7 separate regions of the Homo sapiens genome follow, and regions 1, 2, 3, 5, 6 and 7 are each linked to region 4. Evidence: promoter capture Hi-C in 16 types of primary human blood cells and fetal thymus (Javierre and others, 2016). All regions are on one chromosome and are shown on one strand. Each heading gives the region's core, a stretch centred on a gene start or on the middle of the fragment in contact. The rest is flanking DNA. Distances are from core to core; before and after follow the strand shown. Region 1 overlaps CLDND1-AS1 (CLDND1 antisense RNA 1). Region 2 overlaps EPHA6 (EPH receptor A6). Region 3 overlaps GABRR3 (gamma-aminobutyric acid type A receptor subunit rho3). Region 4 holds the start of ARL13B (ARF like GTPase 13B). Region 5 holds the start of CPOX (coproporphyrinogen oxidase). Region 6 has its middle 3.6 kb from the start of GABRR3. Region 7 overlaps CRYBG3 (crystallin beta-gamma domain containing 3).

Region 1 (3,615 bases), core at 466-2,965, 4.5 Mb after region 4:
CTGGAGGTGTCTCTACGTGTTTGTGGTTTTGATCATCCTGAGAGAGGACCTGAACGGCCTCTTCACACCCAGTTTCACCAACCACACAACCGTATTTCTGGTTTATCTCTGCATCTTTGGTGTTTCCTAATTTCTATTTATGCTTGCTTGTTGTATGAGTAGGTAAAATAAATCCTTAATTAATTAATGGAGCTAAATTTCTACTTCTGCTTCTTACTCTGCTGTTTGAGAAACGGTAGCTAGCCTTATATTTTCACAAATATGAAAGATGATTTTGTGCAACCATGTAGAGATTATGGAATTTAGGTTTAAAAGCGAAGTTAAATGAGACATCTAGCTTAACTTGTTAAAGATGGTTCTAGTTTCAACCGGAAGGCATTATAGTTATAGCACATTTAAAATAAAACCGATAACTGAAAATCTAGATACTCAGATGTTGTAACTTGTTTTTATTATGTACTTATGAAACAACCCTTCACACTAGAATTTCCATCAATACTAAATTCCCCAATACATTTAATATTTTATTTTTAATTGCACATTTTTAGGAACTAAAAGTTATATCTACATTATAAGATATATTTACATTATGTTTCTTCATGTAATTTTTTTTCTGGTTGTTTCCCTTGTGAACTTTGGAGTTCAGAAAGGAAAAAAATGGGAATATGTACAATTCTGGGTTCCAACCAAAAACCATTTTTAAAAATGTACCTATCTTTGAATTTCCTTGCACCCATTCACTGTAGAACAATAACAGAATCAAGATCAAGGCAAATAGAAAAGTGCACCTAAAATGTCTCCTTTTTTTTTTTAGTAATTCCTGTAAAGTGCCACATATAGTAAAAAACTATAATTTTTAGATGCCCATGCTTCTGAAAGACAGTGAATGACCCATATGTAAATGAGAAGTTTAAGTTTAAATTATCCTTTATTTAAAAATTATCAATGGATCTTTGGTTAATGACCCCTTTCTGGACCCTAGGGTCCTCTTTAGTAAAACAGTTGTACTAATGATCATTAACACCACTTGAAGCTCTAAAATTTTACAGTTTATAATTCTACTGGAAGAAGAATAATGCAACTACAAAATACGGTTTTTCATAGATCCACAGCATTAGAGTTTCATTGCAGAATTTATATACCCTATACCTCAAGCCTAGGCAATGTACTAGAAGCAGAGATAGTGGCAAATGTAGATTGCAAAGGAAAAGGAGGAAGACTATATGCATTCTGATTAGAAAAGGTACCGAAAAACAGCCCTTGCTATTTCAAAGATTAACAGTAATTATGAAGGTAAAATTATGGAAGGAAACTTTTCTGATTTCTTCTAATTGACACTTATTAGTATAGAGTTATGAGTATGAATTGTGGGCCTCCCAAAAATAACTTTTCAAAAAAAAATCTTATTGCAGATAAGAAACTAATATAATCAATTAATTTAATTATTAATAAACTTAAGAGTCTTCATTGAGAGAGTCCTCTTCTCATCACTATCCGTCATACTTATTATGAGGCCATGATAATGATATTTTTCACATTTATTGGTTTGCAAGTTGCTTCTGATTCAACAAGATGTGCCAAGTGAAAACATAAGCATAAGTTGACAAAAAATGTGCTGCATTAACTTAGAAACATCTCTTCATATTAGTTTATGATGTGACAAAGATCCCAGGACTGAATAGAAAATGGAAGCTGTCTAAGAAGTTTGTGAAAAGTCCCTACTCTGCGGAAATAACTCAAAATTCAAGCATGATTCATCCCAGATCTATAATCATTTATTGACCATCTATTGCTTGCCAGACACTCTGCTGGATGCCAAGGACACCAACATAAATAAACATAATTTTTGTTATGCACAACCTAAATTCAGATTAAATCTGCTATTTCGAAGAAATCTAAAGTATATATTCCTAGAATAGTAACATCATTTCTATCTATATATTAGTTACCAATGGAAATAAGCCAGTAAATTAAGTGGGGGGCCCTCATAATAATGAATACGTGCCACTTAGTTTGGCATGATGTGATATTACATTATATAGTACTAAATTCTCCAAGTAACTGAGAATTTAAAAATAAAAATAAACTCCTAGAGTATAAACAGTATAATCGTTTTTCTTAAACTTAACTATTTGACTTTGCACTTTAAGAAATGGACAAGATAATGTATCTAACAAGTGAATATATAATGACACCGTTTGACTGATGAGATTAATGAGAAATAATTAGTTGCTTCATGCTCTTTGCCATTTATTCTGGGACATATCAGCAGAGCATGTGTGAATCAAAGGCTTCGTATCCAGGGATTTCTTTCTTCTGTGCTATATGCATGTAATCTGATGAGTCTCCACCTGATATGGTGGTTGACAGGGAAGAGGCCGAAGTAATATAATCATAAGTTCAATAAGCCTAATAGGGGTGGCTCTATTATTAAATCTTCAGCCTGCTTGTGAAGCAGAGGCTGCAAGCCACAGCAAATAATAATGGATTCACTCAAGCAGATGTTTCAGTAGAGAAAACCTTTCTCTGTCTTCATCTTCAACACCTGAACCAGTTCTGAGCATAACTCAGGAATTGGAACATAGAATAAGCAGGGCCTAGAAATCTAAATTAATTCCTCAAATTTTGTGATATTCAGACTAAAAGACTTCCACAAATTTCAAATTCTGAGGTAACTTTTAAGCCTTTTTTAAAAATTAGTCAAAATAATAACAAAGCATAATATATAATGTTGGTTAACTTATATAAATTAGAACAGTGATTCTAAACTTTAGTGTGTATAAGAATCACCTCGAATGCTTGTTAAATATAAAGTCCTAGACTTCTTCCCCAATGATTCTGACTGAGGACATCTAGAATAGGGTCTGGCAATCTACAGCTCAGCAGGTGTCCCTGATGACTCTAATCTGGGTAAAACGATCTGGCATCCACAGGTTCAAAACAATGGCTTTAAGAGTCCTAAAAGAACTTTAGTTGGGTAACTTCTGTATGCTAGAGGCCAGTCCAGAGATAATGAATGGACTCTGTCTTCAGGTTGCTCATTATCAGCTCCAGGGGTCAGATACAAAGACAACTAACAGTGTGAAAAGAGACAAGTACTTTGTAACCAGTATTTTTAAAGTTCTTAGGAAATACAAAGGAAGAAGCAGTTATTTCTGCCAGGAGTCATGGAGGAAAGTTGAGTGTTATTTTCTGAGAAAAAGAATTCCAAAGATGTGGCATATATGCTCTAATTCAGTTACTAATACTTATATATTATTCTTTTTTTTTTTGCCATCATTCTGTTTACATTGACTTTTCATATGTTTATGGAACCCAGTGTTGCTTTTGAGTTTTGATCTATGTGTAGGTTTCTATTTTATTGTTAGTATCTTCATGTTTATTTTAAAGAAAACTCAAAGTCCTAAAATTGACCGTTGCACCAGCTTATTTACAACCCCACTTTAGCCAGCTTTATTGTGGATTCTGTCTTGTACTAGCATTGTACTCTGAGGTACTAAAAGACTGGCACTATGCTATGTGAACGTTTTTGGCTTAAAACATTTAATTTGTTTTCTGATTTGGGTACAAAGATGCTGTTGATCCAAGGTGGGTATTCTCACATTGTAACATTCT
Region 2 (4,169 bases), core at 173-2,672, 3.8 Mb after region 4:
GGAAGAGCATTACAAGCAGAGGGAAAATTTAATGAATGAAATTACAAGCAGAGGGGGATAGTTAATGAATGAAAATTTGGAGTGTTGGAGAGTAGAGAACAGTGTTCTTGGTACACTGAAATGAGGCAAAAAGAGGAGAAGGTATACGCATGAGGCTACTGGAGTAATTCCAGCAAAAACGTGGTGGATTCACTACTTCAAGATTTGGAAGGCATCAGTATATATATGCTATTTAAAGTTTGGAAATCACCTAGGAAAAGCCTGTGGAGGTAGGCCTAGGATTGCACTATATGCTATTCCAATGTTTAATAGGCAGATAATTAGAATTAAACAGAAGAAATGGAGTATAAAGTAAGCTAGAGAAAAAGGAAATGCAGTTGCTCATCTGGATTAAATGCTTTTAAGAAGTCAAGATTAGAACAAAGACATGTCCATGGGAATTAGCAACATGGAAGTTGTTGTTGTTGATGACCTTCACAAGGTCATCAACTATGAAAATAGTGGAGTCAACTATCAACTATGAAATAGTGGAGTCAAATCCCAACTGACATGGATTAAGGCGAGATGTAAAGGAAGGAGGTGAAATCACTATCTATAAACAACTCTCTCAAAAAGCTTTGATGTAAAGGGAGCAAGAGAAATAGGATAATAGCTGGAGAAAGGAAGTCAAGGAATTGTCTTGTTTTTTAAGGATGCTACAGCATATTTATCTACTAATGAAAATGACTTGGCAGACAGGGGAAAACTGATTATGCAAGAGAGATGATAATTGTAACAAAGGCCTTGAGAGATAGAGGGGTTGCGATTTAAAGCATAAGTAGGGAGGTTAATTTTTGATAGGTGCCGGAATATAGAACTCCAATGAAAGGAAGGCAGAATGTGTAATGTGCAAATAGGTTGGTATATTTGTGGTAGAAAGGGAAGGATGTCACTACGTAAGTTTTTTTTTAATTTTACCAAGAATGAGATAAAAGCCAATATGCAGGATGGGAAGGACGTATAGGTTGGAAGAGACATATGTAAGTAGTTGGATAGTAGGAAAGTGAATATATATTTGATGAAATATTTTAAAGGCATCTTTACTAAATATTTTTGAGACATCTTATTGGAAGACCCGAAACTTTGAATTCTGTGGTTTCCAAGGACTCTGGTAAGAGTCCTTTCCATAATGTAGAGATTGAGAACTTCTCAATGCCATAAATACTGTTTTCCTTATTTTCATCTATTACAGATTAAAAGGCAGAAACATTTTGTAGCTAATCTGTTATAATGCAAAGCCTATCAAACTTAAAATTAGCTTAATCCTGAAAGATGTATATTGCATAATCAACCTGTCACTTTTTTCAAACACGATTTGGGAGGGTATTGAGGTCCCATGTAAATTTTAAAATAAAAGACAAACAGGAACTAATCTTTTAGTAAAAATTATTTTGTTTTCATATAGGAAAACAATGCCTTCTGTCATTTACGGAAAACACATGGGCAATATGGTTGGTTGTTCATTGTGCCCCTCTATCCTATAGGAAGAATGTGATCTTTTAATTGTGCTTGGTGCTTTGTTTCTGGAGATATATATATATATATTATATATATGTATATATACCATATGTATATATACATATGTATGTGTGTATGTGTGTATATATATCTCTCTAGGTTGTATGTAATTCAATATGTTGGAATTTAAAGATGCATTATTATTTGGATTTGATGTGAAATTAGATTGTGAATAATGGAGATTGCTCTCCATTTTTTGCTGTTCTAGCATAGCCAAAAATATAAAGATATAGATGTACATATACATATGTATTTGATTAAACACTTTAAATTTTAAATGGCCGCATCAAATTTTAAATGGTAGATGATATCAACAATTGCAGTGCACTCAAAATGTTATAAAATCTTTGTAGCACAAATCCTGAAGTATATGCAAACTAAATAGCATATTTATATAAAATACCTAGATAACATGTCTAGGTTGAGATATTTAATCCCTCATAGAGCTATATTTGACTAATAAAAAACGACAGCTAAAAATAATTTCCCTCCCTATAAGTACAAATATGATTTTTAAAGCATCATTGTAACTTGTCATGAAGCTATTTATTATTAATTAAGGATTTAACTCTGTACCCATCTGCTCTTACAAAAGGGGAAAAAGATTTATCTATGAGAATAGGGAAGTATAGCACTGTTTTATGTTTTTCTCTTTAGTATTCTGTCACCATTTAAAGCTTCAATATATGCCTTCCACTCAGGTTCCTGACACAGCCTACATTCTCTTTTCTGGTTATAATCACAATATGGTAGAGCTATAAACAAGGTAAAAAGGTGTTAACAATTGAACTGCAATCCTACCTATTATCTACTTTACTATAGCAGTGAAGTAGTCCAGACTTATTTGAAGGTGGTACTATTTTTATCTTACAAAAATCTACTATAATATTAATAACTTTCCATGTAAATTTTCATGTGCTGGCATGCTTACAAGTTAATAGTGTTATAGAATGCTCAGCTCTCAATATGAGGGGTTGTTTGTGGTGAATTGCATAACATATGTCATCTATTTGCTGAAAGAATATGCTGTTTAGCAAACTACCTGCTGAGCAACATAATAAGATTTTTGTACAAGGTACAAATTACTAATTATTGTATTTTATTTTTCTATGATTTCCTAAGAGGCATTATCAGGGTCTTACAGATGGAGTAAGCCTGTTTATTAAAATATCTATTGGCAAATAAAAGTTACAGCTTTGGTGGTTGAATTTGTGACTTTTTTGTATTGTTGTATTTATGCAGATCTAATGCAATTTATTTTTTGGTCTAATAAATCTAGATGCTGTTTAGATAATTTAGTAATTCTGGATGCAAAATCATAGTTGTAAATTTTTTAAATAATGTCATTAGGTTTAGACATAAATTCACAGAAATCACTATAAAAAACTAGTAAATATTTTTGTAGCGATTTTATATTGGAAAATATTTTGTGAGATTCAAGTAAATTAAAGTGTTCATTGCAGAGGCAGTACTGCACAGAAATTGCAGATGAAAAAAGGGTACACATAACATCAACTGTTGAAACACAGCTTTAGACCAAAGTTTACACCAAAAAGTTGCAGTAAGTTATAAATCAGGGATTATCTATATTCTTTTAAAAGTTGCTGGTGAGAAAATAACGCTAAAGTATCCTGAATTAATCAGAACAGTGCTGTGTTCATTATATCTGACTCTTTTCTTTTTTATAATTTTCTTACTACAGTTCTAAAAGCCAGTATGAAATTAAAACTGGTGAGAAGGTACCTAAAATTATCTTCTGTTATGGTTAAGTGGCTTTAAGAAAATCACGTAGCATTTTTAAAGCTTGTTATTGTCATAATAAAAAAGAGTCAAACTAACTTCTTAAATCAAGCGAAACAATTGTATCTCAGCCTCTGAATGTACTCGTGAGAGGAGTTTCAGTTGACAAAGCACCAAAACAGCAGAATCAACCATATGAAATATTTATATGTATTTATTTTTAATAGAGATGGGGTCTCCAACTTCTGGCCTCCGGAGATCCTCCTGCCTTACTTAGCCTCCCAAAGTGGTGGGATTACAGTGTGAGCCAGTGTGCCCAGCCTTTATGTTTTTTGTTTTGTTTTGTTTTTGAGTGCAGGGTCTCACCCTTTTGCCCAGGCCAGAGTGCAATGGCACAATCTCAGCTCACCGCAACCTCTGCCTCCCCGGTTCAAGCGATTCTCCTGCCTCAGCCGCTTGAGTAGCTGGGATTCCAGGAACGTGCCACCACACCCGGCTAATTTTTGTATCTTTAGTGGAGATGGGGTTTCACCATGTTGGCCAGGCTGGTCTTGAATTCCTGACCTGGTGATCCACCTGCTTCAGCCTCCCAAAGTGCTGGGATTACAGGCGTGAGACACCGGGCCTGGCAGCCTTTATGTTTTTTTAAGTTTAATATTTTCAAGGCTAACATTTTTTTCTAGATTATTTTACTGCTTTATTTCATAACATTTATCTCTAGTAATAAGCCATCTATCAACTATACTTATCTAAGATAACGATTTGACTAGCTACATTTTTGTAGAAGAATTATCTATCTGCCTTGTTTTCCTGAAAAGTTGGATGCTCAATATGTCCATTTTATTTCCAGTTTTCACCAAATGTTTTATATT
Region 3 (3,866 bases), core at 409-2,908, 4.0 Mb after region 4:
ACCAGTACAGAATTGATGTTGAAATAGCAGTTTTCATGTCACTTCTTTCTCTTGCTTCTTTGAGGGTGTTGTTTATTCTCATTGAAATGTTGATCATAATAATGGTTACAGAAATAGATATAAATAGACGTAATTCTTTCTCTCATTCATCTCCATGTTAAAAAAATTGTATGTACAGGGAGGTGTGTGTGTGTGTGTGTGTGTGTGTGTGTGTGTGTGTGTGATTTGAACAGGCTTATAAGTGGCACAGTAAGGAACAATAGACCTTACTCATGAAGATTAACTCACCTGCAAGGATTTAGACAATGTAGTCACAGGCTAGTTATGATTTTGTAGCAACTCATATGCAAATATTTGCAATCTCAGTTACTCTCTTACTTAGAAAGATGGCAAAGGCTTGTAGCGGTGATAGCAGTCATGGAAAGAAGCAGGTTTTCAATACATAGGACTGCTTTAATGTAAGTATTTTAGACAATGCAGAAACTTCCATTATGAAAAGGGAATGCCAGCAGATATATATAAGAAGGCTCTGCTTCATGGGGAAAAATGAACTAAAAATTTAAAAGGTTCTTCAGTTACAGTAATCTACACCTCAGAGCTTCTAGGCAGACCCATGAGTGAGTCTGACACGGCAGGTTCTAGTTGCAAACAGGGATTCTTCTGAAGGAAATAAGTGCAGAAATTTGAATATGGCTAGACATTTCATTTGTATCAAAAATAATTTTACTTCTAAGTGTTCTTTACATTGTTAGTTGCAACCCATTTGTAACAGCATACAATAGGAAATGACAATAATGTCCTGCAGGACGAGATGGGTGAAGTAAACTATGGTGCACCCATTCAGTGAACAGCTCTGCAGCATATGGAAATCAGTTTTCAGGAACAGAGAAGAAAATCTGGCTACAAATAGACACTTTCCCCAACACAATGTAAGTTCAATAAGGGTAGGAGCCATGTCCATCTTTTGTTACTGTATCCCCAGCAGACAGTCCTTGATATAAGTGCTTAGATTAATAAACACAAGTGTTTACAAAAGTGTTCCATTTGAAAAAATGTAAATTATGAACAGAAAACCTCTAAGAATGTACATTAAAATGTGAACTGTTTAATTCTGGGTAGATGATTTTTTTTGCCAGTGGATATTTAAAATTTTTTAAATAATGAAGCTTTATTTTCTAACCAGAACAGAAACAATAAAACTAAGTTAAAGTATATTATTTCATGGGTTTTCCAAAGTAGTTCCTATAAAATAGCCCATTTCTATATTTAGGCCGTTTACAGAGCGAGCTGGCTTCTTCTTAATCATAGAAAGCAGCTTATTTTCTGAAATCCTTGCATTTTATCCAGGCTTATCCCTCAGTGAACAATCATGCACAATCTGTTCAGGATTGTGATGAATAAATGAAGTGAAAATCAAAATGAGGTAACTCTTATATGCTGTCTTCACTCTCATAATTTTCAGGTAAACTGTGATTTGATTCTTCTTGGAGTAAGAACCAAACAGAAATCTTGTTGCTCCCGAGGAGAAATGAAGCTAATGGAAACAGTCCTCTCTTCACAGACTTCACAAGCCACCAATCTCAAGAGAAGAAAACTGGCAAAACTCCTAGGAGCTCATTCCAAATACTCTAATAATTCCCTTAAGCAGTAAACATATTTTCTTTTTCAGTGTTAGATGTACATTATTGAAGAATACAATGCCTGTATTGCTAGCCATTAACAAAAGTTACATTTGATTGGCTAACAAATGTGCATTTATGCTCCTCCAGAGGAATGCCAAGTGTGGGGGTGTGATAGAGACCCATTCTCCTAGACTAGATTGCCAAATGTATTCAGTGATGCATTTGATTCAAAACAGGGAAATGAATATGCCCAGGGGAAGCATTCGACATATTGAATGTTATACTTCAAAGTATATGAAAAAAACAGAAAAGCCTGAAGAAGCTGAGTATTGGTTGAAGAGAACAGTGTAGATTTATTCTGTTCATTTGTATATTTGTCCCTTTTTAAACATCTGGTTTTGTCAAAATCAGAAATGTAATACAATTGCAGTGCTAGGCTAAATAATAGCTATAAATTCCTGGCCATCTAGAATATTAATCTGTGCTATATTTTGAAAATATAATCCTACCAAAATACTACTATTAAATCAAGCTTAAAACCCATTAAATAAATAGTTTTTTTGAAGTTTATTTATGGTCTATCTACAATGAAATGGAGAAGGGTTTTAATACATTATATTAGCTCAATTTTGGAGAGTATCATATACAAATATAATCCTTGGGAAGTTTCAAAAGAATTGGAAAAGTTGTATTAAGAAAATAGAATGAAGTATCCCAGAGTTAGCCTACCTGTGAGGGAATTCATAATAGAAAAATAATTTTCCTTTTGATATTTTGTACCCAGGAGGAAGATACTTTTCTAGAACCCTCTGTGATTCAGAACGGAGGATCAAAACCAATGTTATTGGTTTAAAAAGCAGAAAATTTTTGTCTCTTCACCTGGTGAAAAAGTAATTCAAATCATTTTGATTTACTTTATGGTGAAATAAAAGGAATTACACTGAAAGTAATACACCATTTAATTTATTTCTCTTAATTCAATCCCAGCAATCAAAATAGGTATCGGAATATTTCATATTTCCTGCCAAGGGCTTTTCTTTAAATTGAATCTTGTTCAGAAAATACTCAAAACAAAAGCATGCACACTGCCAATCTGCAAAATGAACACTGATCATAGGAGGTTTTCCTACTTAACAAAAATTTATTTAATACCCACTTGACCTGGTTTACTTGGTTCGACCAAAGATATTAAGGATTACTATGGGATAAATACATTTCATTCAGTTTTTTCACTCAATACAATATCTGGAAGCATCTCCAGTTGTTTATAAATTGAGAGTCCACATCCCTTTGGAGATGTTCTTTTCCTTTCTTTGGTATCCCCCTTTCAGAATTCACACCAGACAGTGTACATACCTCTGTTTTAACATTCGTCACATGTTTTATAGCTCCAGTTCACTGCTCCTGTTGGCTATGCACTTAGAGAAGGCAGGAACGCTATTTCATATTCATTTTTTCAGTACATAACACTTAGTGAAGTGCCTGGCACACGTAGGTGGTCAATAAACATTTGTTGAACAAAGTGATTAATTAAAAACCTCTAAAAAGCTGTGAAAACAATACATGATCTACAAAATGCGAGATGTTATTATTGATGACTGATGTATTAATTTAACATTAGAATGAGAAGAATAAGTGGAAGTTTAGCTTCCCCTCTCCACTTATGCTCACAAATACATGAAACAATATTTTATATATATATATATTTTTTTTTATTTTATTTATTTTTTGAGATGATGTCTCGCTCTGTCGCCCAGGCTAGAGTGCAGTGGCTCAATCTCAGCTCACTGCAACCTCTGCCTCCCATGTTAAAGTGATTCTCCTGCCTCAGCCTCCCAAGTAGCACAGACTACAGGCGTGTGCCACCATGCCCGCTAATTTTTGTACGTTTAGTAGAGACGGGGTTTCACCATGTTGGCCAGGCTGGTCTTGAACTCCTGACCTCAAATGATCTGCACACCTCGGCCTCCCAAAGTGCTGGGATAACAAGCATGAGCCACGGCACCTGGCCTGAAACAATATTTAAATAAGAATAAATACTTGACTGGAGAAGGAGATTGGAGATCCTTCATAGGATTCTCAGCTGTGTGAGTGTGGATGATACCACCTCTATGTGGATGTTCTTGCCTAGGACGGTTGAGCTCTGGTAGATAACCAGGCACTTGGCTGGCACTAAGAAACAAAATATCTTTGAATTATTGTTATAGTCCAGCTTTCTTCCCTAGTTAAATAAAGAACATTTCA
Region 4 (4,081 bases), core at 999-3,498:
TGAAAGACCTGCCCATAAATAAATTCTTTGACTTGCATTGTTTGATAGTACGTCTTAAGACTCCCATTCTAGAAAGGGTCCTACCCCATACCCTGGAAGAAGGAATGCTGAACAATCAGGTCAAGAGGAATCTGAACAGACAGGCCTTGCTGAGTTTCTCCACACAGTCTGCTCTCATTAGGTCATATCCTTTTTGACCAATGAGAGTTCTTCAGGGTTTTTCATTCTTCATCGAACCCAAGTATAAAAATGGGTAGTCTTCCCTGCATCTTTGCATCTCCATTTGCAAGGTTCCCATGTCACATAAAACTTGGATTAAATAAATTTGTTATGCTTTTCTCTTGCTATTCTTTTTGTTATATGAGTGTTGGCTGTGACTGTTATGATGAGAAGAAAAGGTATCACCCCCTTTGTTCCCCATAAGGCACAGTATTTTGGAGATAGCAAGCTGTATGAGATGTATATAAATTTGAATTAAAATTACATGAGGCTGGGTGCCATGGCTCATGTCTATAATCCCAGCACTTTTGGGAGGCCGAGGCAGGCGGATCATTTGAGGCCAGGAGTTTGAGACCAGCCTGGGCAACATGATGAAACCCTGTCTCTACAAAAAATACAAAAATCAGCTGGGCGTGATGGTGCACGTCTCTAGTCCCAGCTACTTGGGAGACTGAGGAAGGAGGATCACTTGACCCCAGGAAGCGGAGGTTGCAGTGAATCGAGATCATGCCACTGTACTCCAACCTGGGTGATAGAGGGAGACTCTGTCTCAAACAAAACAAAACAAAACCAAAAAAAGTTACATGATTTAGTAAAGGACAGAGACTAATTTAAAACCTATATGTATCTTAGTCTCAAATCATTATATTCCCCGCGAATACACTGGGATTCTCAGTGCCTTCTATCCTTTCATCAGGATTTGAAAATATTTATTTAAGTAGAAAATGAATGGACACACAGATCCCTACATATTGTGCATAATTTTTTCCCTACAGGAATGTCCTTGTCATTTCTTTTTCTCCAAAGTATATAAAAGAAATGCAAATATTACATACCTCTTTAAAAAATAAACTATTACAAAACAGTCAAGAGATAACAATCTTCATCTTGCAGATACCAAATAGCCAGCAATTTATGTACCTAAAAATCCTGAAACAAACATACATCAAAATGGTTATTTATTTATTTTTGAGACGGAGTCTTGCTCTGTTGCCCAGACTGGAGTGCAGTGGCGCGATCTCGGCTCACTGCAACCTCCGCCTCCCGGGTTCAAGCAATTCCCCTGCCTCAGTCTCCAGCGTAGCTGGGACTACAGGCGCGTGCCACCACACCCGTTTTTGTTTTTTTTTGTTTTTTTTTTTTTGTATTTTTACTAGAGACGGGGTTTCACCATGTTAGCCAGGATGGTCTAGATCACCTGGCCTCGTGATCCGCCCGCCTCGGCCTCACAAAGTGCTGGGATTACAGGCGTGAGCCACCGCGCCCGGCCCCAAATGGTTATCTTTGAGAGCTCCTGTGAGATCTCATTTTCTTCATCTTGTTTCTTTTTAGTATTTTTCACATTTTCTACAAGAAATGCATTTTTCTTTTGTAATCACAATCCCCCCTACAACAAATATCATACAATTCCGTTTCACATATGTAACAGTAATAAACGTTTTAGAGATTAAGGCTTCACTCTCATCTGAACTACTGAGAAAATTTAGCAAGCGAATTTCCCCCTTGTCTTTAACTTACAAGAATTGCCCCAGTGTATTGTTCCTGTAGTCATGCTGCCTAAGTCGGCCAGAATTCTAGAGGGTCCCCATCCCTGAGCAAAAAACAAACAAACAAAAAACAAGAAAAAAGAAAGAAAGAAAAAGAAAAACCCATGCACAAGACCTGAGATCTCTGAATCTCAGTTGGGGACACTGGAGAAAGGAAAGGAACAGCACCGTGGATTGGCAACACATTTTATGTAGGTATAAAGATAGGCCTTGCTGGAGATTTGTCCCGGATCCTCCAGCTTATCTCCGGACGCTCCGGTTGCCTAGTTACGAGAACGAGCTACCTCGAGCTCCGCCTCCTTCTTATAGAGTACTCCCCTTTCTCTTTTCCTAGTCTCGCGCAGGGGCGGGTAGCCAGGACTCTTCAGCCACTCAGAGGCCTCTACCTCAGGACCTCAACCGATGATTGGGCGAGCGCAGTACGGGCGTTGCCTGGGGAACGCCTTCCGCGCCTCGAAGTAACGTCAGCACGTCGACGCGGGGCTTTTCTTTAGCCGGGTCCCGCTAACTCGGCTACGGTGTATCTGCGTCTTTGGTCAGGTTGTTCCTTGGCTAAGAGGGCAGTCGTCGCGGACCCACGCGGTTAGCAAGGCTTAGTGCTCGGGCCGGCCGCCTTCACTTCCCTCCCGGCTTTTCCTCCCGACTTATCCACTTTAGGGGCGTCTCGGAGTGCCGGAGGCCCCCGGGGAAGAGCGGGGTGCCGGTGTCCGCTCCGGGCTCGGATGGGAAGTGGTGGGAGGAGCGACCCGGGATGTTCAGTCTGATGGCCAGTTGCTGCGGCTGGTTCAAGCGGTGGCGGGAGCCTGTCAGGTAGGCTGGAGCCAGCTGTCCTGGCCGTCCTAGGGGTTGGAGATGGCTGCGCCCCAGGGGCGAGGCGCCGCCTTTTCCCCGCGCCTGGACGAGTCTATCCCAGGCCGCAAGGGATGCTTTCATTCCCAGGGTGTCCCGGGAGGGAGAGATTGGAGGATGTAGCCTTGTTGTCTGGTCGACTTTCTGTTGCGATTGACAATGCTTACCGTTGTTATATTTTAAATAGGTTTGAATTTGTTAAAAAGTGTGTGTGTGTGTGTGTGTGTGTGTGTGTGTGTGGAATTGAAAACTATCCATTGTGTGTTTTTCCTCTGAAGCTTTTGTAATGGAAATTCTTTTAAAAAGAGGGGGACATGGAATATAGTTTTCATAATATCCGCACATTCCATTCCAAGTCACACCTCCACACAGTTGTATTTGAGGACGTGGGCTTGAAATCTGGCTCCACTACTTAATAATTACATGACTCAACCATTTTGGCCCCACCTTTCTTAAATATTAAATGAGAGTGATAATACTCTGCTTTAGAAATATTGTATTCAATGAGAACAAGTGATAGTGTTTTCTTAACTGTAATGTAGCTTCCAATTTTTATACGGTCTCTAGTAAAACCTTTTAATTGAAAGGGTCCACTTTTTAACATTTCATTTTGAAATGCTGGAAGTATTAATAATTAGTACCTGTTACTTGATATTCATTCATTCAAAAAATATTTATTAAGACAATACCTTGTGCCAGGCACTGTCTTAGGAAATAATCAGTGAAATTGATGCTTTTGAAACTGAGGCCTAACCTATAAAGAGATCTTGTGTTTGTTACACAAATAATGTTGACTTCACATAGTTCTAGTCTGGAATTGGGCCAAGGGTAAGATAAAGCAAAGTTGTTTTTTTTTTTAAATTGTTAACATTTTAAGTATATTTGCCATGAGAATGAACTATCCTTTAAAGAATGAATCTGAAAAGCTACACTTACACATTATAACAGAAAATACATGTCTAGATTGGAAAAAAAGTAACTTTAAATGAAACTAGAGATTCTTCCCCATTATTAGCTCCTAACTGAATTTGAATGTTTTAAATATAAGTAGTAAGATCAACTCTGTAAGTCAAAGATGGGCTGGGTGTGGTGGCTCACGCCTGTAATCCCAGCACTTTGGGAGGCCGAAGCTGGCCGATCTTTGGAGCCCTGGAGTTCGAGACCAGCCTGGTCAATATGGCGAAACCCCGTTTCTACAATAAAATAAACGGGCACGGTGACGCACGCCTGTAGTCCAAGCTACTTCGGAGGCTGAATCAGTAGGATCACTTGAGCCTGGGAGGCGGAGGTTGCAGTGAGCCGATATCGCTGCACTCCCTGAGTGACACAGTGCAACCCTGTCTCAAAAAAAAAAAAAAAAAAAAAAAAGAAAAAAGTCAAAGAGTTGTTTTAGGTGCATAGATTCTGATTTATTTGCTTTAATTATATTCTGGTCTAATTTCACAGTATCTACTAAGACTTGAGGG
Region 5 (4,137 bases), core at 46-2,545, 4.6 Mb after region 4:
GGTCATGAATGTACGCCTCTACGAGAACTGGGTTTTGATGCTCAAGTATTTTGATATTGGAAGAGAAGATTTTCCTAGCAGGAAATCTGATGCGTGCATTTGGTAGTGCTACTGAGAAACGAATCAAATATATCTTGTGTAACAGTAAAAAGAAGTGGGAAGATTCTGACACAATGACATCCTGGCTGGAGGAGTTTAGCCGACACTTAGCGCACAGGAGATGAGTTCTTTCCATCTCCTAAAGAGGAAAAAGGGCAAATTCACCCAGAGAAGGAGAGAAAATGTGTTCCATAATCTATTGAAATTTATGTTCAGTAACGAACTTTGGACATCTAAGCTTGTTAGCTGCAAATACCCCTTAAGAGTTCTACAAAAAAATGCTGCTACGGAATTGCAAAGATTTTGAAATGCAGTACTACAGTGACAGCTGATCCGGGTCCATACCTGCAAGCAGAGGGCTAGTGACCCTTTCGTGTCCATCTTTTTATCAGCGGCCTCTAACCAAGCGGCCTCTCTGTGGGTACCCCCTACCTACCCCATCCCATATTGTGAACTATTATATTTTCTGTCTGCAACCTGGAACCTGACCCTTTTTCCCTGTCTCCAACTCCCGCCAGGGGCCGGCCTCCTTACCTTCCTTCCTCTCCCACCGGTCCACAGAAAAGTTGGCGCCCCCGTCTACCTGTGCCAGAGCCTGGCACACCTGGGCCTGGGTCTCCAGAATCAGCAGCTCCATCTTGGTCTTCATGTCGCCCGGCCTCCTTCGCAGCTCGCCCAGGTCGGTCACAGGCGGGGCCATGAAGCTGCTGCAGCGGTGGGCCAGCTCATCCTCCTCCTCCTCCGGCCTCCCCAGCGAAGTGGCCCGCGTCCCCGAGGTCTTAGGCAACATCTCCGCCCGCTGCACATGCCCGAAGGCGGCGGTGGCCAGCCCCACCAACCCCGCCAGCGCCGCGGCCAGCCCTGTCCCCACCCAGGGGCCGCCTCTCGACGTCGAGCCGTGCCCCAGCCCGCGGCTCTGCTCCGTGCCAGCCGGGCCAGGGGGCCGGCAGACGCGTCCGGCTGCGCTGCGCTGGGACCAGGCTCGGAGCCCTCCGCCGCCGCACTGGGACCAGGCGCGGGGCCCTCCGCAGCCGCCCCGCGCCACGAGCCAGCAGGGGCCCGAGCTCAGCCTGCCCAGCTGCAAGGCCATGTTCCCGCACTATCACCTGGAGCAGTGCCTGCGTCCCAGAGCCCTGCGTTTGAGCCCCCCACCCAGACCCCCGGAGTATTGAGCCGGCGAGCTGCACAGGCGGAAAGAACCTTTCGAGAAGAGCCGCTGCAGCGTCGGGCTCCGGAGGCGGGGGCGGGAACTGGGGCGCGCTGGGAGCTGTAGTCCGGATCCTATCGCCGCCTGCGGCGTCCCTGCGCGGGGCGGGAGATAAGAATCCGACGCGCCCAGAAGGGCTGGTCCGAAGGGAAGAGAGTGGGGCGGGGACGGTGCTGTGGAAGGGACGGGAGAGATAAAAGAGGCTTTCTTGTCACGTACAACCTCGGGTCGGCTGTTTACTCAGCCAAGGAGAGAAGATAGAGTAGGGCTGGGAGGCTGAGGGCGGACTGGGGCGGAAATGTGGCAGAGATCCCAGTCCCGCTTACATTTTCAAACAGGATTTGCGAATACAGAGCCTGGCTCAGGATCTGTATAGACCCGCCCTTCGCCCTGGGTCCTGGTCCTCTAGAGTTTTTAGAGGGGATGGGCAGGCTGGGAAACTCTTTGCTGAAGGATGGTTTTCTAAAGAGAGTGGGAGAAGCTAGTAATGGACTCGGAAGAGAGTCGAGGAGAAGACTTTCTGTGATCGAGTCCACATCACAGTTCTGTCCTTAAGATTTCCCCAGGCTGGGGCCGGGCGCGGTGGCTCAAGCCTGTAATGCTAGCATTTTGGAAAGCCGAGGCGGTTGGATCACATGAGGTCAGGAGTTCGAGACCAGCCAACATGGTGAAACCCTGTCTCTACTAAAACTACAAAAAAATAGCCGGGCGTGGCGGCGTGCACCTGTAGGCTCAGCTACTCGGGAGGCTGAGGCAGGAGAATCGCTTGAACCCGGGAGGCAGAGGTTGTAGTGAGCCGAGATCGCACCACTGCACTCCAGCCTGGGTGACAGAGTGAGACTCTGTCTCAGAAAAAAAAAAAAAAAAAAAAGGTTTCCCCAGGCCTTGCTTCTATAGTGCCTACTTGATTATTTTAGAAAAAGGAAAAGCAACGTGACTGTTTTGGTTAACCAGTAGAAAATTCCTGACTTGGTGTGTTTTGGTGATTAACAAATAAGAATTTAAAAAATAGTTATTCTACTACTGTAGGGTGCTCCCAAATATTGCTCACGTTTAATACTTACAACAACTGCTACAAACTAGGCAAGGCAAATATCCACACTTCCTCCTACTCTGTCTCCCTTCCCCCACCCTTTAAAGAAATGAGGAAAGAAGCTAATAGATTTGACAGGCAGGTCTTTGTCTCCCCTGTAACCATACCACAGCTCCATGGTTCCTGGACGTAAAAGTGTGAGAACTATTGTCATGGGCTAATTTGTCCCATAAGTCTCCGGGATGATTTTAATTTCTAGTAGTAGATAATAATTTAAGCCACTGGTAGCTTTTCCCACAAGTGTTTTCTTTGTGGCAGGATGCACTGATGGAACTTCAATGGCTTTTGAGTCAGATCAATTGGCATCTTGTCCACACACAACTGTACCTGGCAGCTCTCACTGGGACATGATGTTAGCAAGGTGGGTGTGCTTGCCGAAGCCTCACCACTGAGAATCTGTGAAAAGTAAAGGCTTGGATTGAGAAGTGACTAAGCGACTTTTAGGGAAGAAAAACAATTAGCTTTTGGTCATAGTGCAACCTGCCAGGAGGCCAAGTTAGAAGTGGAGGAAGGGAAATAAGAATTGTCATTGTAGGAAGGGTTGATGGCCTCTACTGGATGCCTGTGATGGGGTTGGGCTGGGCCTGGTGATGATAAATGAACCTCATCAAATGAAAAGGAACCTCCCTGGTACGTTTATTTGTAAGAAACCCCCTCATTATTGCTCTAATTCTGCTAAAAATACCCATAAAGTTAGTAAAGCCCATAAAGTTAGTTAAAGCTAAGTAAGAACAGACTGTTTTGAACATTTGCCCGGTCACAAAGGCTGATCCTGAGCAAATTGCATACTAGATTCCAGGTTTCCATCCCTCTCATCCTTAGCCTCTCTATACGAAGGGCCTCACTCCTTTCTTCCTCTGGTTCCTAGCACCCTCCCTACTGGCAAACTGTTATTCAATGCTTAAGAAAGGCTTCAATAACTTTGTTAGTGTGAGTTTAAATCACCTTTCTGGAGGTTCAAATTGTTCCCAAGTGGGATACTTATATTTAAGTTGTATTTGTCGGTATGGGGGAAGAAAAAAAGACATCACCTATCTAAGTAATTTCTTACATCAGAAAACTAGTTGGGACAAATAAAAAGTTTCTAATAAGTTGTAGAAAGTAAAGTGTAAAGTAGAAGTTCTTGTCTGTTTTTTAGCTTAGTTTCTTGCATTGCTTTCCAACTATTTTTTATGTGACCCTATTGCAAAGATGATTCTGCCTAGCCTTATAGGTATTAGTACATAAACATCATTTTTCAAACTCCACATGCTTCTCAGAATCCTTACGAACTTTTTCCTAAAGCCCTGTTGAACATAACTTATTTTAGGCCTGCTGGTGCATGTTAGAGAGAGTTCTAATGTTTATCCCTCTGGTAGCTTTACTGCCTTCTAACAACACACACACACACACACACACACACACCTAGAATTCTCACTATTTTTACTAAACTATACTATTTTCAACAATTATAAAATTCTGAAAGCCAAAGTTAAGAAATGTATTACCAAATTCACTCAGTTCTGTTGCTTTCAGATAGATACAGAAACTCAGGCTAATTAGTAACAAAATATTGCTGAAAATCTGTGTTTGCCTTGGCATCCTTCTGCCCAACTCATCAGAAATTTTGGTGGGGTGATGGGAGGGGGGTGGTAGGATTACCAAGGAAGTAGAATTTTTAAAATGTTAATTCATTTTTTTCTCCTAGAATTTGTATTTTAAACTTTTAGGTCTATAGTAGCAAATGCTTACATAGATT
Region 6 (3,884 bases), core at 258-2,757, 4.1 Mb after region 4:
CCCAAAGTATTTCTTGGCTACACTGAAGGCATTTTGTGAAAAATTGTTATGTACTAAATGAGTTTGGGAAACATTATACATTTTATTACTCTGTTAGGGGTCACACTCTTACCCCAGGGCCTTTGCACTGGTTGTCACCCTTGCCTGACATATTGTTCATCTGGATATCTATATGGCTAACTCCCTTAACAAATTCAAATGTATGCTAAAATGTCATCTATTGAATGAAGTATACCCTGACCACTCTTTTTAAAAATACCGTATTCTTTCTTTCCTCCTACAACCTGTGTTACCAATCTACCTTTCATCCTGCTTAGCATGTTTTATATAATTTACATTATGTTTATTGTTCATAATCTGTCTTATCCGGCTAGAATGTAAGCTCTGCAAGGAAGTGATCTTTGTTTTGTTCCCTGAGGCATCCCAAACACTTATAATTATCTTTGAAGTATAGTTGGTATTAGTAAATATTTCTTAAATAATGAATGAATATTAACACGTTCAAGGCTTCAGTTGAAAAAAAAAAAGCCTGCTTTGTTCTGCTGAATTCTGTGTCTCTCAAACTTATTTGATCTCAGATCCCATTTTAAAACAAAACAAGACAAAACAAAACAAAACAAAACAAAAGAAAACCACGATACTTACATTCTCCCAAAATAGTACTCCTCCATGACAGCCAGTTCTCATTCATAGGTAAATCAGTGAGATTCTCATTTATAGGCAAATTGGTGCTTTGCACATTCTCCTTACCAAAATTCTGTGTCCTATCATCTTGAGACAACCTTTGATGACTGCTAAACTTTTACGTTCGCAAAGAAATATTGGTAGCTGATAAAGAATAAGCAAGATTGAAGAGGAGACTTCACGAAGTGGTCTTTGATCTGAAGGAATGAAGCACTGGAATAGAAGATGTCCTCTTTACAGGACTCAGTGGAGCTATTTGGGGCACTTATTTTTCGGAAATATCTGTCAAGTCATATGCCTCCTCACTGTCACTTAAATTATGTTAGGATGCCCTGGTGTCTCCTTCTGCATCGCAGGGATGAATCATGATGAGAATCTGTCTGACCTCTTTACTGAATAATCTTTGCTAGACTATCTATATCGCTATAAACATTAAGGAAGAAATAAAAGCAGTTTGTTTTTTGATGATGAATTTTAAGTGGGAAATGGTCTGCATAAAAATAAAAATAAGGCAATGGCTTACACTAGAGAGAGTTGACTTACAGAAAGTCTAAGGGTTTTAGTTCAATTACAAGAAGGCATCTGCCTCTGTTGATGCTGAGTTAGCTCCTTAACCTTATTCCTTTAGAGCTTCCCTTTGCAAGCTCAGTAAGCTTCTTAAGAAAAAAAAAAAAAGCAGAAAAGCACATCTGTCAGAACTAGAAAGTGGTAACTACCAGGAAACAAAATGAATCACAGGGTCACTGGAGAATTTCGTAGTAGTTTAAGCTCTCCCTTGCATAAATTGTCTCCTGTTTACTCTTCTTCCACTCTGATGATGTCAGTCAGCCAGTTTTTATTTCTTTGGCAGCGACATAAAGAGAAAATTTGGAAAGGATGGCTGTGTCGCCAATCTTGGGGTATGTAGCCATTATTTTGCCTATAAAGAGAAAACAAAAGAAAAGCTAAGGTCTTATTTAGACTGGATCTGACAACAGCAACAACAACAAATTCCAAGCTTCTATAAATTTCCCACTGTGTCTGCAGGATGTCATCTAGGCAAAATATCTTGATTTGCAAATTGTAGAGTCATAAAATCTTAATAGGGAAAGACTTTTGGAAATCATTTAGACTACATTTAATGTCTCTCCTGCTCTCTTTTATGCAGAGGAAGCTAGGACTAGAGAGGTTAAGTGATCAACTAATTTAGTTTTCATATTTACAGTCATGTGCTGCACAACGACGTTTTGGTCAGTGATGGACCACATATATGACTGCAGTTCTCCAATAAGCTAAGGTTAATTTATTATTGAAGAAAGAAAAATATTTTGTATAAATTTAGTATAGCCTAAGTGTACAGTTGACAGTAGTGTACAGTCATGTCTTGGGCTTTCACACTCAGTCACCCAGAACAACTCACTAACTCACCCAGAACAACTTTCAGTCCTGTTAACTCCATTCATGGTAAGTGCCCTATACAATTCATCTTTTATACTGCATTTTAACTGAACCTTTTCTATTTTGTCTATGTTTATACATGTTTAGATACACAAATACGTACCATTGTGTTACAATTGCCTATAGTATTTGGTATAATAACGTGCTGTATAGGTTTGTGGCCTAGGAGTAATATCATATAGCATAGGTGTGCAGTAGGCTAGACCATAGAGTTTTGTGTAAGTATACTCTACAATGTTTGCACAATGAGGAAATCACCTAACAACGCATTTCTCTGAGTTTGTCCCCGTCATCAAATTGCGCGTAACTGTTTTGCTTTGATGCATTGGAAATATAACTGGCCATGCCTAGAGCAGCCAGTAGGGGGCATTTGCTATCCTTCCAAAAAACCCTGCTCTCACTCAGAAATCCTGTTTCCTCTCCAGTTCCCAGAATTACCAGATAACCAGTAGATCATCGTTTTTTCATACCCAGTAGACCATCGTCCCCCCCACGACCCTTGTTTCAGTCTCTTATCACATCCTTCCTGGCATACAGAATCAGCTGTGATACGAGTGAGGACACCTGAAGAATCTTGCTCTGTTTTACAGGCAAGAGGATGACACTAAAGCAAAGCAGTCTTCATCATCGTGTAATAGCGCAAGACCACCACTAGATGGAAGCATAGGATACACATTCTCATCCAAATTACTATTGTCTCGAATTTGCCTCCTTAGGAAAACTTTCTTATGTAGTATTGGTAAATGCAAATTATTCAGCACTTGTAGTGAATAATTTTCACTTACCAATACTGGCAGAATGAACTGAAAAGATTAATGATATAATACCAAATGATTCAGATAAAAAACCCACACACCCCGTTATTGAGGAAAATGCAATTATTTACCTCGAATAATTGACTAATGAGGTTTATTGGTTTCTCTGATTGAACACTAATTTATTTTTAAGATTTCACTTTTTACCTACACCTAAGAACAGCATTTTGTTTGTGGGAACGGTAAGAGACAGAGGTGAACATTGTAGAAAAATAAGCTTTCTATTAGAATGAAGTACCTGTTATGAGTAAAGTTTCTAAAGGGCACTAAATAAAACACTAGGGCACATGGCTCTGGGACTGGATATGGTACTTACTGCATGATTTTTAAAAAGTTTCTTAAACTTCCTGGACTTCAATTTCCTCTTCTGTATTCATTAAGCACATGTATGTAGGTGACTTTTGAGACCCCTGAGGAAGCAATAAAACACAGTGGTTAAGAAGAGACAATAGCGATAATCTTTATTGGGATATTTGGTGTCAGTTTTTGTGGGTACAAACATCTATTCTTCCATTTACTACTTGTCTGAACATTGAAAATGACCTAAGATTTTTTGTTGAGTCAGTTACTTTATATATAGTTAAGAGGAATAATACTAGGACCTATCTTTTAAGGTTAAAGTCAGAATTTATGAGACTGTATGTTTAGCACAATGTTTGATACATTGAAGATACCATAATTGACAAAATTAATATCAGCTATCAATCTCATGCATCTTTATTAATGTAGTATGATCTTCCAATGTTATGAATTTCATTAAGATTACCAATAAGGTCCCTGTTTTCCAGGATTGAGATTTTGAGTCATCTTTAATTACTCCCTTTCAAAATCTTTCTTCGTTTTTTGCTTCAGAGCTACTTTTGCATTTTCCTGCCCTTTGTATTTCCATTGCCACCTGACCTTTTTGTCTCTAATATTAATATATCTCCCTGGGCTCCAGTGCTGCCA
Region 7 (3,689 bases), core at 775-3,274, 3.8 Mb after region 4:
CTTCAAGAAATGATTGCTCAACTTTGTTTCTTGGCTGTATCATGCATGATGGACCTGTTTAAAATGAGTTCTGTGCAATGTTTGTAACTGTGAAGAGAGATGGTAAGGTGAGAACAGTATTTATCAAGGGCTGACTGTGCACTTACTTCTGGGCTGGGTACTTTTACTTGCAACGTATCATGTAAATCTCACACTCAGTGTGAAATGTTGGTCCACTTTTACGATCTGACAATTGAAGAAACTGAGTTTGGGAGAGTGCTCAGTGATGGATGCTATGGGCGTTTTGAATGGAACAATTCTTTGAACTGGACTCTTTTGTCCTTTGCAAGATGTTTGGTATCCATGATTACACACACTAATTGCCAGTAGCATCCTCTGGTCATTGGGATAACTGAAAATTCCTCCACCCAGGTGGGTGGGAGGGAGAGTGATACCACTCCCAGTGGAGAGTGATTACCCTAAATCGTGAGAGGAGGTGAATGGGTGGGACCAGGCTGCTAATGAGCTGTGGTGTAGGAGGTACTCTGTACTGTCAGAAATGTCAGTAGTACTTCTGATGACCAGCATGGGAGAGCTATTGGCCTTCAGGTTAAACTACCAGTGTTGACAACAGCATCAGTTATGTGAGGAAAGGAAGCTTTGTTTTCTAAATTGTCATGATGATTGCATTTTTATTGATTTGAAGCACTAAAAATAATTGGTAACTAGTTAGTTGGATAGGAGATACCTGTGTCACATCAGCAGTTCATGCCTTCAGTAGTGAAGATGACGAGAGAATTCCAGAAGTCTTTAGGGGTGTGTAATTTGTGAGAATCTTGTCCCCCTCTGCTCCTCTAGGTTAATTCAAAGCAAAAGCTTACTCTTGGCAGCAGAGTCAAAATATAGCCTGTTGTAGGGTATCAAAAGTCCACCTTTTCCAAGTGATTTCCATCTCTTGGGTTCAATAAGGTGTCTACCAGATGGCTAATTTGGGAATTCTATTTTTTGCTGTGAACATTCCTTGGAAATGGACTCAATTGTATGCTCTGAAAGTGTTAAAGTTGCAAAGGTACCACAAATTGACCTGCAGTAAGTTTATATAATCAGAACTTCTAACTTTATTGACAGTTATAACATTTTTAAGTTTTTTTACTCATAACAGCGGAAAATATGTAAAAAGGGTAATAGCAAGTTTTGTAAAATAAGAGAAAATATTCCCTCAAGACAAAATATTTTCTATCCAAAGTTCTGATGAAATATACCAAAGTCCAGATATAAGAAACGTTAGTTACCAATTATTAAATAAAATGATAGCAACAAACTGTAGGTGGTTGTAAAATTAAGGAAAATAATCTAGGCTATATGCTGAAAAGAAGGAATCAGCATGAAGTAAAAGTTAAGGAGGTAATACCTACTTTGAGTCTGTTCAATCCATAAGTTAGAGTGGCTGCTTTGTGTCTCATATGGTGCAAAGCAATGTGGATATAACCATAAATGGATGACCAAATATGCCTTCATAGAATTCACACATTAATGGAGGAGATAAAAGTGTACATCTCTGTTCTTAATATGAACTCATTATAAACCAAACATGTCTTTGGAGTGTGTGACTTGTTTCGTTCAGAGCATACTTAATGTTTCACGAATGTCATACGTTGTATGAGAACTTTAACTGGGCTTTCAAAATATGTTCTCACATTATTAACTTTTCTCCAAGCATGGTTTGGTTAGCTTCCTTTGCCAAGGCAGCATAGTGGGGGAAACATGATAGTAACTGCACCATCAAGGTGAATGGAAATGCTGCCCCTTGGTTCCTCTTGCTTTCCTCCTTGACCCTTCAGGCTTTGCAAGTCCTGGATAGAGGCAGAAAAGGGCATCCCTTCGGGAATCAACATTCCAAAAAAGTGGCAGTGCTTTTTTTTTGATGGAAAGAAGTTGAGACAGGATTGCTAGACCCAAGGTCAGGGGCTTTGTCTTCATCTTTGCGTCCCCTTAGTTCAGGTGAGGAGTGACTGTTGATTGGAGCATTAAAGGACTTATTAGTAACATTCAGCTAGGGGTGGTACCCTCCCCAACCTTCAAGTAGGCACTTAGAAACACCAGGAAGGTTGATGCTGTTAGAGAACAAATCGAAGTTTTTCCACTAGTAATAAGTCATTCTTAGTGTTTATTTGGCAGTTGTACGTGGCCAAGTAATGGTACAACTCCATCCAGCAGGACTGTCCCTGAATGTTTTACTTACTCCCAGGAGTTTTTAATTGGAAGTATGCTAAAGCACTGAAACAAGAGCTTAACCAAGTGTGTGTTTGTTTTCTTTCTTCCTAATCAATTAATGATGACAAAAACAAACTAACCTTTATTAAGGCCCTACCCTTTATTAAGGGTACCCTTAATACCCTTTATTAAGCCCTGAGCTTGGAACTTTAAAAATATCAATTCACTTAATCCTCAGAGCAAACGTATCTTTACTCCCTTTTACAATATATAATTTAAGGCTTCAAGAGGTTCAGTAGGTAATCAAAAGTCTCACAATATTGGTAGTAGAGTCAAGAGTCAAGTTTTCCTTCCTGAATTCAAAGCCTACAGCATTATGTGACAGCTTCCTCCGCTTAACTTGGGAAGACTCGTAAAAGAAGGCTGCCCTTAGAAAATGGTTTGGAATGGAAATAAAAGACAATGGCATGCAGCTGGACATCTGCCCAGATGGACTGGGTCAGAGCTATGGACAATCAAGAATTATACTCCTGAGAGTTGGGAGAGGAAAATAAATGCACACATTTATGCAGGTTATAGATTTATATTTAAATACAAAGAAAGGGTCAGTCTCCTTCAAAAGAGAGTTTCAGATGGAAACCATAGCAAGATACCATATTCTACCTATTTGATAAGCAAAACTCCAGTTTCATGTGGGGAAGCTGGAACTCTTATACACTACTAGTGGGAGTATAAATTGATACACCACTTTGGAGAGAAATTTGATATGACCTATCAATATTGCAGATTCACATACTCAGCATTTCTGATTTCAGGGAATTCCACTGAACATGTACAGTTTGCAAACAGGCCAAAAGTTGCCTATAGAAGTTAGTCATTGCAGCATTGTTTTAATAGCAAAAGATGAAAAATAGAGTAGAATGCCATTCAATTGTGGACTAACTGATAAATCACAGTACATCCATATAGTGAAATATGATGTATCTACCAAAAAGAATAGGAAAGCTTTTTATGTACTGTTAAGGAAATATCTCCAAGATACATTAAGTTAAAAAAAAAAAAAAAAAGCCGGGCGTGGTGGCTCATGCCTGTAATCCCAGCACTTTGGGAGGCCAAGGCGGGTGGATCACCTGATGTCAGGCATTTGAGACCAGCCTGACCAACATAGTGAAATCCCATCTCTACTAAAATACAAAAAAAATTAGCCGGTGTGGTGGTGCTTGCCTGTAATCCCAGCTATTCCAGAGGCTGAGGCAGGAGAATCTCTTGAACCTGGGAGGCAGAGGTTGCAGTGAGCCAAGATCGTACCATTGTGCTCCAGCCTGGGCAATAAGAGTGAAACTCCATCTCAAAAAAAAAAAAAAAAATAACAAAAACAAACAAACAAACAAAAAAAAACTTAAGCTACAACTAATTGTGTATAGTATGCCCCATTTGTATATACAAAAGAAGGGGATATGAAATAAATCTGTCACTAGTGTTGCATAACTTATTTT

Evidence for each region. Contacts are between HindIII fragments. The CHiCAGO score rates a contact against its expected background, and 5 or more counts as called.
Region 1: a contact is called between a fragment that was not itself captured here and the fragment with the promoter of ARL13B in region 4, in 1 of 17 cell types (non-activated CD4 T cells). The highest score is 7.0, in non-activated CD4 T cells.
Region 2: a contact is called between a fragment that was not itself captured here and the fragment with the promoter of ARL13B in region 4, in 1 of 17 cell types (total B cells). The highest score is 6.1, in total B cells.
Region 3: a fragment that was not itself captured here is called in contact with the fragment with the promoter of ARL13B in region 4 in 1 of 17 cell types (total CD4 T cells); the score reaches 5.5 in total CD4 T cells.
Region 5: the fragment with the promoter of CPOX here is called in contact with the fragment with the promoter of ARL13B in region 4 in 3 of 17 cell types (non-activated CD4 T cells, activated CD4 T cells and total CD4 T cells); the score reaches 8.3 in non-activated CD4 T cells.
Region 6: a contact is called between a fragment that was not itself captured here and the fragment with the promoter of ARL13B in region 4, in 1 of 17 cell types (total CD8 T cells). The highest score is 6.9, in total CD8 T cells.
Region 7: a fragment that was not itself captured here is called in contact with the fragment with the promoter of ARL13B in region 4 in 2 of 17 cell types (naive B cells and total B cells); the score reaches 7.1 in naive B cells.

Annotation. Positions count from the first base shown.
Region 1 is chr3:98,525,697-98,529,311 of GRCh38, forward strand. CLDND1-AS1 (CLDND1 antisense RNA 1) reads left to right here. Exons shown (of 2, transcript NR_198998.1): 2 at 1-191. Among named protein-coding and RNA genes, the nearest start is that of GPR15, 4.5 kb to the right of the region's middle. RefSeq lists an enhancer at 2,669-3,212. The HindIII fragment of the contact is 4,844 bases long and covers 1-3,615 here.
Region 2 is chr3:97,758,768-97,762,936 of GRCh38, forward strand. EPHA6 (EPH receptor A6) reads left to right here. Exons shown (of 18, transcript NM_001080448.3): 18 at 1-2,765. Among named protein-coding and RNA genes, the nearest start is that of ARL6, 3.9 kb to the right of the region's middle. The HindIII fragment of the contact is 1,619 bases long and covers 614-2,232 here.
Region 3 is chr3:97,982,533-97,986,398 of GRCh38, forward strand. It overlaps GABRR3 (gamma-aminobutyric acid type A receptor subunit rho3), which reads right to left. Exons shown (of 10, transcript NM_001105580.3): 10 at 2,570-3,866. Among named protein-coding and RNA genes, the nearest start is that of RIOX2, 12 kb to the left of the region's middle. The HindIII fragment of the contact is 988 bases long and covers 1,165-2,152 here.
Region 4 is chr3:93,977,907-93,981,987 of GRCh38, forward strand. ARL13B (ARF like GTPase 13B) reads left to right here and starts at 2,249. Exons shown (of 10, transcript NM_001174150.2): 1 at 2,249-2,576. The coding sequence starts at 2,518. RefSeq lists enhancers at 1,857-2,016, 2,287-2,416. The HindIII fragment of the contact is 5,745 bases long and covers 1-2,891 here.
Region 5 is chr3:98,592,316-98,596,452 of GRCh38, forward strand. It overlaps CPOX (coproporphyrinogen oxidase), which reads right to left and starts at 1,296. Exons shown (of 7, transcript NM_000097.7): 1 at 634-1,296. The coding sequence starts at 1,189. RefSeq lists a silencer at 835-1,284 and an enhancer at 1,785-1,834. The HindIII fragment of the contact is 5,536 bases long and covers 336-4,137 here.
Region 6 is chr3:98,037,013-98,040,896 of GRCh38, forward strand. No RefSeq gene overlaps it. Among named protein-coding and RNA genes, the nearest start is that of GABRR3, 3.6 kb to the left of the region's middle. RefSeq lists an enhancer at 2,333-2,627. The HindIII fragment of the contact is 344 bases long and covers 1,336-1,679 here.
Region 7 is chr3:97,825,286-97,828,974 of GRCh38, forward strand. All of the region lies in intron 1 of CRYBG3 (crystallin beta-gamma domain containing 3), which reads left to right. Among named protein-coding and RNA genes, the nearest start is that of CRYBG3, 5.1 kb to the left of the region's middle. The HindIII fragment of the contact is 2,343 bases long and covers 854-3,196 here.